Linked DNA regions of Homo sapiens: regions 1, 2 and 3 are each linked to region 4. The links are contacts of gene promoters, found by promoter capture Hi-C in human tissues and cell types (Jung and others, 2019). All regions are on one chromosome and are shown on one strand. The core of a region is centred on a gene start or on the middle of the fragment in contact, and the rest is flanking DNA. Distances in the headings are between cores, read along the strand shown. Region 1 has its middle 170 kb from the start of KIF2A. Region 2 overlaps PDE4D (phosphodiesterase 4D). Region 3 has its middle 83 kb from the start of KIF2A. Region 4 holds the start of ERCC8 (ERCC excision repair 8, CSA ubiquitin ligase complex subunit).

Region 1 (2,883 bases), core at 216-2,715, 1.2 Mb after region 4:
ACACACAATGTCCTCTTCTTACACAAAAAAGTAAATGGAGGGATCATACAGTTTTACAGATTTTTGCCTCTTGTTTTTTCTTTTAACTTAATATCTACCACAGAAGCCTTTCCAAGACAGAATACACAACTCATTTTTACAAACTGCATACTCCTCCATTGCACTGAATTCCTAATTTTACTTAACCATTGCCCTCATAATAGTCCTTTTGGTTTTTGTTGTTATTGCCGTAGTTTGGTTTTGTATTATCCATAGCACTCAATGCTCCTGTGAAAATCTTCATATATATGTACAAGTATTTCTACAGGAATCATTCCTAGAAATACAATTGCCAGGCCATACATGTATGTACTTTTAAAAAAATATTTTCATAGCTGCTCCAAATTGAGAAGAACCATTTCCTAAATAAAATGTAAACTCTTGTTAGAATTGCTGTCAAAATGAAAAAGATGACTGACAAAAATTTTACATTTCAAAGACAGAACATTGATGAAAATCTCTTTGTTTTAAAGATGATGGTTTTCTTATTTTAAATAAAATCTTTTTAAATTCATAAGGCATATACTATTAAGATATACCATGAGGCAAACCACATTTTGTAAATGAAAGCTTAGGAGATCAGTCAAAGAAAGACAAAAGGAACCAGTTCCAATGTCTGTTGCTCAATATTGGTGTCTGTTCAAACGTTAGCATTGTCAGCCTCATATTTCTCTGCGGTGGTTTTCAGTTACTCTAAAAGGCTGTTTAAGCACCCAACTGACTTGAATCAGATTTTCTGGGCCTGTGGCTTGGGCAACTGAGTTTAGAATGTTCCCAGGTGATTCTAAAGTACAATGATGCTGAGAACCACAGCTACAGAGCTTGCTAATTTTAAAATTTCTGAATTTTTAGCAAAAAAAGTAATGCAGCCATTCAGTGGCATTGCAATAATAAATGAACACTTAAAAGGAAGTTATAAGTGTAGAATTTTCTGAATTTTAAATTGATTAAATTTACAAAAAGAAATGCATTTCTAATATTTTTTTATTTTGTTGAATTAATCATCATGTGAAACAGTTACTCACGACTAGGAGTATTTGCAAAAGGCAGATGTATGGCTCTAGAGAAACCAAATAATAGGATAAGCTGGAATATGGAAGAAGGGATAAAAGGACAACAGATGGAACCAGGCAGGGTTAATACATATAGTGTAAATGAAGTAGAAGTTTTTGAAGCCCAAAGTCATGGAAGAAGTCTTTAGAAGGCCAGAGCTTTCCTAGCTTCAGTTTTTAGGAATACATCGGCACTGCCCAATAAAAGGCAGATAACAAGCCTCAGTAAATTATTATTATTATGGTGATAGTGAAACCACATCATAAGCGATGAAAAAATAATAAAAGAAGAGATTATCAGCACAGGAGGAGGTCAGGCCTGCAGCCAGCACCAGTTCATGTCAAAGCCAGCAACAATTCATAAAGTCGTAAAAGGTAATTGTGGAATAGGGACTTGGGAAAGACAATTACAGAATTAAAACCCAGGCCCTCTCCTGCATAGGGTACGGATGGATGAGGTGTCCTTTACCTTTTTCTGCCACTAGAATCTTTGTGTCAAATGAAAGTCAACTACTTTACACCCACAAAGAAGACTATGTCAAAGTGTGCAGTATAATTATGTAATTTTATAACAGCTAATGAACACTCAATATTTCAAGTCAGTTTGACGATAGCCTGCCACTGTCTCTCACAATTCCTAGGTGATTCAATGTTTAGCACTCTGTTTTCTAATTTTCTTACAATACTATGTTCTAAACTTCCACCCCTTTTGTTAAGACTAGAGTATGGGTATGATGCTTGGAAAACTCGTTCCATTAAAAATCCAGAGGTGAAGTCCATCACATTTAAAGAGTGGAACAGCACTTGGAATCCTAAAACTAGAAAACAACATTCAAGACAAGAAAGTAGATGATAACCCCCTGGGTTTCAGAATCCCTGCTGCTGCATCAGGTCCAGGTCCCAGGGCTACAAGAAGGGACAAATGAGGAGCTTATCAAAGCCATTCAATTGAATTTGAAGAATTGGCCCATAACCTGACAAAGGATTTTGTGTGATAGTAAATAAAATAACATAAAATAGTAACATCCGACCAGGCGCGGTGGCTCACGTGTGTAATCCCAGCACTTTGGGAGGCCGAGGTGGGCAGATCTTTTGAGGCGAGGAGTTTGAGACCAGCCTGGCCAAGAGGGCAAAACTCTGTCTCTACTGAAAAAAAAAAAAAAAATACAAAAATTAACCAGGCATGGTGGTGTGAACCTGTAGCCCCAGCTCCTTAAGAGGCTGAGGCAGGAGAATCTCTTGTACCCCGGGGGTCAGAGGTTGCAGTGAGCCAAGATCACACCACTGCACTCCAGCCTGGGTGACAGAGCGAGACAAAAACAAAAGAAAAAGTAGCATTCAACCTCCAGCTATGACTTTCCAAGACCACCTAGACAGTGGCAGAAGCCCCTGACTAGGAGATAGAACACTCCTGCTTAAATTTCCTTCAAGCACATGTGTTGTGTATTGGCCTTGACATCAGGATGTCAACATAGTAATTTCAATGGTGAAATCATACTTATTGGTTTCCCTGGGGTGTTGTTAAAATCTCATGGGCTTCTGTACCCATCGTAAAACAAAATTCAGATTCACTGTTTTTTTAATAAATATATATTAAATCACTTTGCTATTATCTCAGAAGCAAAATAAGAATAGGGCAAGAATGTGATAATCCTACCACAAAAAGGCTGAGAATTCCTGAATTCGGAACAGTAAGCTATCATTTCAGAGAGCACGAAGGTTAGACTTCTTCAACGGAGAAAGCTGCCTAGAAGGATGTACGTAGAAAGAAATGCAGAGAGTAAAGCTACAC
Region 2 (2,998 bases), core at 413-2,912, 1.2 Mb before region 4:
CTCCTCATAAATCACAGATTATATCCAGCTCCTGGGATGTTATGAGACAAAACGAGAGAATGTGTGAGAAACTGCCCTGGGTACTCTGACTACACAAAAATAATGCACTGCAACTAAAGTATTTTCAAAGTCTAGTATAGGATACAATGTGTGGCTCCGAAACACAATAAGTGAAAATAGAAGAGGGACCTTAAACAAGCAAATGGTGACTTTACTAAAGCAGTGACAACAGAACTCAGTTCTATGGGCTCAGAGAAGAGATAAATCCATGAGTAGTAAGGGTATAAAGGGCTTCCCTGGGGAGGAAACGTGGCACAGAAACGGAACTAAGATTAATTAAGGATGGGCAATAGGATGGTAGGCATTATTCCCATTGTACTCATGTGGAAGCTAAGGCTTGGAAATATTTCATAACAAGTCTGAGGCCACAGTAGAACCAATACGTGGCAACGCCTACATTTAAAACCAGTTTACTTTTATTTTTTTTCATTTCAAATTCCGGGCACTTAAAATACTAGCAACCAACTTTGAGGCTCCAAGAAGCTGTGTGTGTGTGTGTGTGTGTGTGTGTGTGTGTGTGTTTTGAGGAAGTGGGCATGGAGTGAAGGAGGAAAGTAAGAACACCACATGGAAAAAGCACTAACAAGGGTGGCCAATGCAACAATGCATGTGATGTATTTGGGGGATTATGGATGGAAAATCCAGCTGGCATAGAGGTTTGTGCCGTGAAGGAGAAGAACGCAAGGTGGTAAAAGCATGCTGAGAATAAGTGAATATGCAAAGGAGTTTGGACATTTTCCACTACAAAATAAGGCCTCTTTGGAAATCTTCAAACAGAGGAGTGATCTAATCCAGGTGGTTTTAAGAAGATGGGTTTGGCATCATGTAAACTAATTGACTGGGGAAGAAACAGAACAAAAAGGCCCTTGATCTGCAGAGATATGGCTCTGGCTTAGGGTAGAAGAGACAGAAGGACAGGAACTGGTATGAAGGGAGATTTGAGAAAAGAGTGACTGATTGGAATTGGAATTGGAGCTGAAGGTGGCTGTGTTAAAAAATGACTGTAGGCTTCAAGCTTAGGTGGCAGAAAGAATGATCATGACATTCACAGAAGTGGGGAAGTCAGGAGGATGCTGATATGCAGGGAAGAAGAGTCAGCTTACACCCATTGAGTTCAGTGGCAAGACAGTCAAATGGAATGTCCGATAGGTAGGAAATCAGAGCAAGACTAGCAATCTGACTGCAGACTCAGGAGTCCCCGAGGAGCCTGAGTGAGTTCCGTGGAGGTGCATGATTTCCATGGGAGCAACACACTCAGAGGCAGAATGACTCAGGAACCACGTCCTGGGAGATGTCCAGCGTCCAGCTGTGAATACCACAAACTTTTGTCTATAGTGATGATGAAATATTGACTCTGGAATTTTGGATTTTGTGCCTTAAGGGAAGCTTGCAAACGGTGGCCAAGCACCTAGAGAGAGAACTAGTCATATGATTTGTTTATTTCATGCCTGCTGAATAATTGTTTAGTTAATAAATGTCCTTATGTAAATCAGAATTTAATCTAAGATGCTTTTATTCTAATTAGGTGGTGACATTATAAGGAAGTAGTTAACTCCTCTCACCTCCAACTTCACTGGCAGTTACCAATGTCCAACCAAAACAACCAAAATGTGTTCATAATAATATTGGTTTAGGTCAGTTGCCAAAACAGTTGAACATGAACATCTAGCCTTTTAAAGGATGAAGATTCATTCATAATGGTTCAACCAAAAAGAAAAGAATGGTTTTAGAAATGTTTTCCAGGCACATTTAATGCAAAGGAAAGCTCTAGTAAAACAATTATCTGCTTGACTTGTTCATTTCACGTGGATGGGGATTAGACCTTCTGATCAACACCTGCCTATTCAACATTTATCTATATATGAAATGGCTTTTTTAATGTAAGAATTTTTTCCCCTTAGGGGCTCATAGATTAAGCCGTGGTGACAGAGAGCAATTGCATTTTTAAGTGTTACTACTTAGGTATAAATGGTGATCATCTGATTTAATCCCTATCCCAGTGGGCCATCATGAAAATACAGCTCATATATACAGCTCCTGTGGCGTGCAGGACGTTACCATGTGGTATTTGCCAATATGGGACATTGCACTCATGTGTATACACACACATGCACAGACACACATGCACAGGCACATGCACACACACAGATGCACATACAGACATGGACACAGACATACACACAGACATGGACAGATACACAGACACACACACAGAGGCGCACACACACACACACACACACACACACACACACACACACACACAGACAACTCTAGCTATCTCTGAGGTAATTCAACAAGCCCTGCAGTTGGCTTCATCTTTATATTCAGAACTTGTTTTTTTATCTTTCCTTTGAAGAGTAATCCTATCTGAGACAGAAAGAAGATGAGTCACACTGAGGCAAAACTTTGTAGGTAGAAATGTGCATAAATGCGCTTCTCTAAGATGCTCATGAAGAAAAGACAAAAGAACAGCCATGTCGCTGAGATGCCATCTGTGAGGCTGGCACAGTGAGGCACGACATCCCTGGTGCTTCCCGGCAGCCTGCGAGGGCTGCCTCCCTCCTTCCCTCCCTCCCTCCTGCTTGCAGGTCCGCTTTCAGAGCCTTCCCTCAGGGCTTATGTTCCACTGACCTATAAATGTTTACTGTAATTATACCAATTGTCACCTCCTGCATTGTCCACCATTCTTCTTGCCCTTCTCTATTTTTAAAAATTTTGTCTTCAAAATAGCATGCTTCACAGTAAAAATCTCAAGTGAAAATATAATAAAACAAACAAAACATAGTTCATCAAGGCATTCAAAACAACTCTTTGTGACAACAGTTTAAAAAACAGTGAATTAATGATGAATTGTGCAAAAAAAAGTTTAAGATGCCATCTCTGATCCTTCATATAACACTTTTTTTCAGCTGGAAAAATCCAAGAATGAATGAAAGAG
Region 3 (2,862 bases), core at 311-2,810, 1.3 Mb after region 4:
CCTCATTGTAGTTCAGAACTCTGCTTTGGCATCGCCTCCTGGTAAAGCCCCTGCTGCGTCCACCCTTCCAGCCACACTTCCTCACTCTCCTCTGCACCACTTTGGTGCTGCAGGAGTTACACTTTCTGTTGCAAAGATCAAGTAGTCTCGGGTGACCTCTGGTGATGTGGGTGATTGGAAAGATACTTAAGGCAATAAGGAAGCACGGGTATGACACTAGGCAGGTTGCAGTCCAGCCTCCCAGAGCCCTGGGATGTCAGTAAGGGCTCCCCTTTGAGTCAGTAATGGTAGCACCCCCTTGAGAAGAGGGACCTTTGGCCCCTGACTCCTGACGGTGCCATACTCACAATTCCACTTCTCTCCTTCACCTCTCTGTGCTTCCGCTTCTCACCAGTTCAGCTGTTACCTCCACTTTTGTTTCTTTCTAATTCTACTCTGGTTCTGTAGTTGAGTTTCTCACAGTGGAAACTACCTGTGCTCTCACTGGTTGGGTCAGTGAGTTGCCTCCACTATTGGGCAGAATTCTGCTATTAGGCCTCCCAGAGCCCATTGGTAAACCTAAGATTGTAAAAATGTAAAACTTTTCTCTCCTCAACGTCATCTGTAATAATGAAACCCCAAAAATATTTACTCTATGTATCCTGTAGTTTTGCACAATTTTGTGGTTACCTTTGGCCAAGTTACAGATTCTTGATCAGTTCGATCATGGTTACTTACCAGGGTCACAAGACAGAAAGTCAACAACTTATGGAAAAAGAACACTCTTTGCTGCTTTGCTCAGAAGGTAATATGTACAAACTTGCATTATTGCATATATCACAATACAGCTTGTTTCTGCATAGCCCAGTCCCCTACAAGACTATAACCGTGAGGCCAGTGGTATTTCCTATATTTGCATGTTCAGCATGTAGCATAGTGCCTGGTACATGGTAGATTCTCAATAAAGCTCTGTTGAAGTTAATTGAAATGAAAGTAAAATCAAAATACCTGAATTCTAATTCTAATTTTGCTATTTCTTTGCTATCTGAACTAAGATAAGTTACTTAACCTTTCTGAACCTCCCTTTCTTCTTAAGTAAAAAGACATAGTTGTGGTAAATATTAAGTAAGATGTGGACATACCTAGCACAGTTTTGTGTGTGTGTGTGTATGTGTGCGTGTGTATACATATATATATATTTAAACATATATATATATTTCAACATATATATATATATATTTAAACTGTCTCTTTGTTATACCACTGCCATGTATTGTAATTACATTCAAATAGATCTTCTCTTAAACAGAGAGTAAGTTTTAAGGACAGGGTCTGTGTCTTATTAACCTTTGCACCTCCATACCACCACCCAAATTTCTGCTTTTGGTGGGTATTTAAGATAATTAATGGCATGAAGCGCCAATGGATTTATAAACTGTATGCGCTTAAAATCTCCATATATTAACATTTTTAACAATTTTTTAAAAGCAGGAAATATTAAGCATGACAAATTACGGTCAACCCGAGTTTCAATAACTCTGGGTGCCTAGCAATCTTCTAAGAGTCAAACGAAAGCAATGTTGCCTAGGTTGCAGTTTTCCAGTGTGTGTCTCCACCTACTGTATTTACTGGAAAGCTGCTGAAGCGTTCCTTCTAATCTTGAGGTTTTCAAGCGTCTATCTCTGGGACAAGCAAAGCTCTGCATTGGGCACCACAGTCTAGCACATGTTTTCAGGCACCACTAGAGGGCAGGCTAACGCTAACTTCGGGGACTACTAAGCAAGGGCTTTAGTCTCGAAAAAATGGGTAAACGCACCACTTGTTTCTTGGGTCTGTTTCTAAATGGAAAAGTACATGTGGGCATGTCCAGATTTGTATTTCGTGTTCCCTTGATTCGTTATTTAATCCTTCGGCTCACCTTTCCTTTTGTTTTCTATTTCCTCCTTCAAGTTCTTTCTCCTCTGGAGTGTAACAAATAAACCTTTTTCCCCCCCCCCCGTCAAAGCCTTAACCCATAAAAATAAATAAAGACGAAGGAACAGAAGGAAACACTGCATAATTTAGTTAGTGAAAGTTGGACAGCTGAGGTTTCCTTTGGGTTTATTCTAAAATAAAGGATTTTTTAAAGGTTCAACTTGCCTAATTTTTCATACTTTGGGCAGCTTGCCAAGATGGGAAGGGAAGGGGATTTGCAGAAAGAAGAAAACAGAGAGAGAGAGAGAGAGAGAGAGAGAGTGTGTGTGTGTGTGTGTGTGTGTGTGTGTGTGTGTGTGTGTGTGCGCGCGCGCGCGCCCTCGCGCACGCGCATAGCGGGGCGCGTTTCTGGGTGTAGGGGATGTTTATAGGGATGGAGGAAGGAAATGAAAAGCAGATGTTGAGGAGTTGGATGGTCACAGAAAGAACACTGGCCTGCAAGTATTACTGGGCCACCATGAGCAGTGCTGGGACACAGCTCCACTGGACAGCCACCCCTTTCTGTAACCTGAGAGCAGCTACCCTACTCACACCTCAGTCTCCTCATCAAGCATGTGAGAAATTTGTACTAGATGATCTTCTGGTTCAAATATGAGCCTGTGTTGAGTGAGAGAAAACATGGGGGTTAGAAACACAGGATGAATATTTGTGGAGAATCTGAGAATGACAAACAGAAAGCAAGCAAGCCAACAAATACACCATGAAGCTGGAAGAGTCTTCCAGCTGACCCAAGTGTAGAAACAGTTGCCCCATTTAGAATATTTGGAACATTTTCCCTCCCATTATCAGGGCTCTAACACCGGGCTGCCCTCTGTTCTACCCTCTGGGAAGTCCAAGGGAAAAAGGTACCAAAGCAGACAAGCAAGGATAGAGACGGTGGTGGCATTGCAGGCTAGTCTGCATTGCGGC
Region 4 (3,164 bases), core at 110-2,609:
CTGCCTGTGGGAACATGCTGATTGTGGCAACAATGACACTGCCGCCATTTGAGACATTCTAGATATGCAGACTGAGGAAATCAGTGAAGGTGAACTTATAGACATAAATGAGGAAAAGTGATTGTGATGAAAGGCTGATGATGTGTCAGAGGAAGTGACACTGGCAAAAAAAACACATTAAAGGAACTCTCAGAGATATTTCACAACATTGAAAACGTAATGGATAAAATGTTGGAAACTAATATTTAAATTTCTCCAGAACGCAGAACTCATAAGCAACTGTGTTCTCCAAGTAAATATCTTCACAGGTTCCTCAATTAATGTGGGCAAAATTAAAAGTACAACTTGCTTCTTCCCTTTGGAAAACCCTCTCTCAGAGTATATTACCAACATTCAACTTCTTATACAAGGCATAGATCTGGGAATCATTATTCATTCTTCTCTTTTTGTCATTCACGTATCCACTCAATTTCCATGGCCTGTTGATTCTATTTCTCAGACGTTGTTCAAATCTCTCCACTATCTTTATTCTACTTGGCAACTCTGTGGCCCAGGCTTCCAACAACTCTCTCCCGGACAAGTGTAATCACAACAGTTACCTAACTTGGCTCCCACTCTTGTTCTCAGTTGCAACCCATTCTCCAAGCAGAAAACAAAATGCAATAGCTGTTACCTTATTCTCATCTTCACACCTCTACTCAAGTACACAAGGCTCTTCCTCATCTAGTTTCTGTCTACTTCATCTCTTGTCAATGGTCCCTACCCCAATTCTCCGCTCTAGTCATTCTGAACTTTGTTCAATTCCTGGCCTGTGTCCTCTGCCTTTAATAGGCTGCCTGGCACACTGTAGGAATTCACTAAATATGCAGACTGAATGAATGAACGAGTCCGTGGAGGGCAGTTATTCTTTGGAGTAACTTAAGAGAGAAGGAATACAGTACAACGAAGTATTCTTATTTAGGTTTATAGTGTCTTCACCTGAGCCCGCGGGGGAACCCCCCCCCCACCCCCGGGGAACCCCCCCCACCCCCGCCGCCCCCCGCCTGCAAGTTGTTACCAGTAAATAAAAGGGATCCTATTTTAGCAAGCCACACAGCATTAGAGGGCAAATAATAGTTTGGTGGCAGGAGAGCGATGAGACGGGAAAGTGTGGGGCAAAGCTTACAGTCATTGGTCCAGATTCTAACTGGCCTGTTAGCCAAAAAGTAAGGTTTTCTTTACCTCCGTGTTGACTCTGCTCTCCGAAGGCGAAGAGGGTCCTCCAAACCCGTTTGGCGTGCGGACAAAAACCCCAGCATATCGTGTCCTCACACCGGCTGGAGCACTGGACGTCGCCATGACAGAGCTCAGGGGCGGGACTGGAACAGCAGAGTCTCCCATTGGTCAGTCGGTGATATATCCGGCCAATGGTGAGCGCCGTTACTAGAAGGGCTCCAGGATGGAGGCCGACCTGACTTCTCCGCCTCGGTGGGCTGGGTCGGCGGCTGGAGCATTACCCCTACTGCGGGTCCCGCTGCTGGCAGCGCTGGAAACTGGGTGGACGGCATGGGTTGGTCTCAGGATTTGTTCCGCGCCTTGTGGAGATCGCTGTCAAGGGAAGTGAAGGAGCACGTGGGCACGGACCAATTCGGGAACAAATACTACTACATCCCGCAGTACAAGAACTGGAGAGGTGAGGTGGCGGCGTGGGCAGCGATTGCGTGGTCAGTGATTGCGAGGTCAGTAAAGGAGGGAAAAGTGAGAGCCCCTAGTCAACTAACGCATCATGCGACACTTAGGGTGTCACCGGAGAGAATTTCCCGAGTTCGTTCTCCCCTGTCGACCCCTTCACTCTGGCATCGGAGCCCTACCCGGCCCGGCTCTGGGCGCCTTGGCCCGGCCTCGTGCGTCCGCGGTCCCTACTACCCAGCGCCTTCCCCCGGCGTGCCCCGGGCTGCTTGCGCTGTTAAGGCGCACCACCACTTTCCTCCCAGCCACGCCTGTAGAGGAGCCTCAGTTTTAGCCCTGGACTGGCGACGGAGGCAGGGAAAAGTCCACGGAAATCTTTCACCAAAGGGGCTAGAAGGGCCAGGGGAGGGGTTTTTCGTACGCTGTTCCCCGCCTTGTGACCCAGAGCTGAGTGGTGTAATTGAAGAGGAGTATCTTCAGCGCCTCGGCTGTCTTCTTTCTTGGTGTTTACCCTTTTCGGTGGCACCCTGGCTCCGGCGCTGGCCCCATGCGCCTTCCTTACTACCAAGACTTGTCAGAAGTAGGTCCATATCCCCACAAGGCTCGCTGATTCCTTTCTCGGGAGTTGACATTCCAAGACCCCGTTGAGCTCAATTTAAGAAACGTGGCAATAATCATGGTGTTACTGTGTAGGATTCGTGCCAAGTAGTTGAGCGGGTTGTTTGGGGAGTAAGGAGGCGTTGCTGTCCATTGAAATCACACTGTGTAGCCGCCGTCGTAACCTCTTCTGTGTTGTTCCATCGCCGCATGCAGAAAATGTCAGGTTTTGGGCGAAGAGGCGTGGGTTAGAATCTCAGCTTTGACACCTGATAGCTCGGGAATCACGGAAAAAGTACTTGTCCTCTCCAAGTCTCAACATCCTCACTTGAAAGTTAGAGATAATATAAGATCAGCAATGTTGAGAAGCACTAAGACCTTTCCAAGATTATGTGCCATTCATTTCCCACACATATAAAATGTATTCTGTGATTTATCACTCAATTAATTTATTTTTGCCTGGCCTTTTTCTGTAACTTATTTTAATATTTAGACTTGTTTCCCTAATGAGCTCCTCTGTCAGGCAGGGAATATGTCTCACAAAAAAAGAAAAAAGCCTGCAAAGAACATAGCATGGTGTTAAGTATTTCTTGACAGGTTGCAAGCAGAGAGATGTTTCTTTTCCATAAGTTGTCAGTAAAATTAAAAATATGCAAACTGTCAGACTGAGTTTTTTTAAATTGAAATATAATTTACATACAGTAACATTCACCCTTTATGGTGTACAGTTTTATTGTTTTTGACAAATGAGTAGAGTAACCTCACTGGATTCAAGTAATAGAATAATTCCATCACCATCAGAATTTCCTCCAACTCCTTAGTAGTTCATTCCCACACCCTTTGGCAACTACTGATGTGTTTTATGGGCCTATAGTTTTGTCTTTTCTAGAATATCATAT

What was found. Contacts are between HindIII fragments. The study calls those that stand out against the background at their distance.
Region 1: a fragment that was not itself captured here is called in contact with the fragment with the promoter of ERCC8 in region 4 in 1 of the 25 tissues and cell types used here (dorsolateral prefrontal cortex).
Region 2: a contact is called between a fragment that was not itself captured here and the fragment with the promoter of ERCC8 in region 4, in 1 of the 25 tissues and cell types used here (dorsolateral prefrontal cortex).
Region 3: a fragment that was not itself captured here is called in contact with the fragment with the promoter of ERCC8 in region 4 in 1 of the 25 tissues and cell types used here (dorsolateral prefrontal cortex).

The regions. Positions count from the first base shown.
Region 1 is chr5:62,139,219-62,142,101 of GRCh38, forward strand. No RefSeq gene overlaps it. Among named protein-coding and RNA genes, the nearest start is that of KIF2A, 170 kb to the right of the region's middle. The HindIII fragment of the contact is 5,532 bases long and covers 1-2,883 here.
Region 2 is chr5:59,791,859-59,794,856 of GRCh38, forward strand. The region is part of intron 1 of PDE4D (phosphodiesterase 4D); the gene reads right to left. LOC105378988 (a long non-coding RNA gene) reads left to right here. Exons shown (of 2, transcript XR_001742413.2): 2 at 2,970-2,998. Among named protein-coding and RNA genes, the nearest start is that of MIR582, 90 kb to the left of the region's middle. The HindIII fragment of the contact is 5,222 bases long and covers 1-2,998 here.
Region 3 is chr5:62,221,840-62,224,701 of GRCh38, forward strand. No RefSeq gene overlaps it. Among named protein-coding and RNA genes, the nearest start is that of KIF2A, 83 kb to the right of the region's middle. RefSeq lists a silencer at 1,636-1,785. The HindIII fragment of the contact is 5,325 bases long and covers 1-2,862 here.
Region 4 is chr5:60,943,711-60,946,874 of GRCh38, forward strand. It overlaps ERCC8 (ERCC excision repair 8, CSA ubiquitin ligase complex subunit), which reads right to left and starts at 1,360. Exons shown (of 12, transcript NM_000082.4): 1 at 1,222-1,360. The coding sequence starts at 1,298. NDUFAF2 (NADH:ubiquinone oxidoreductase complex assembly factor 2) reads left to right here and starts at 1,495. Exons shown (of 4, transcript NM_174889.5): 1 at 1,495-1,672. The coding sequence starts at 1,546. RefSeq lists an enhancer at 2,131-2,260. The HindIII fragment of the contact is 9,089 bases long and covers 1-3,164 here.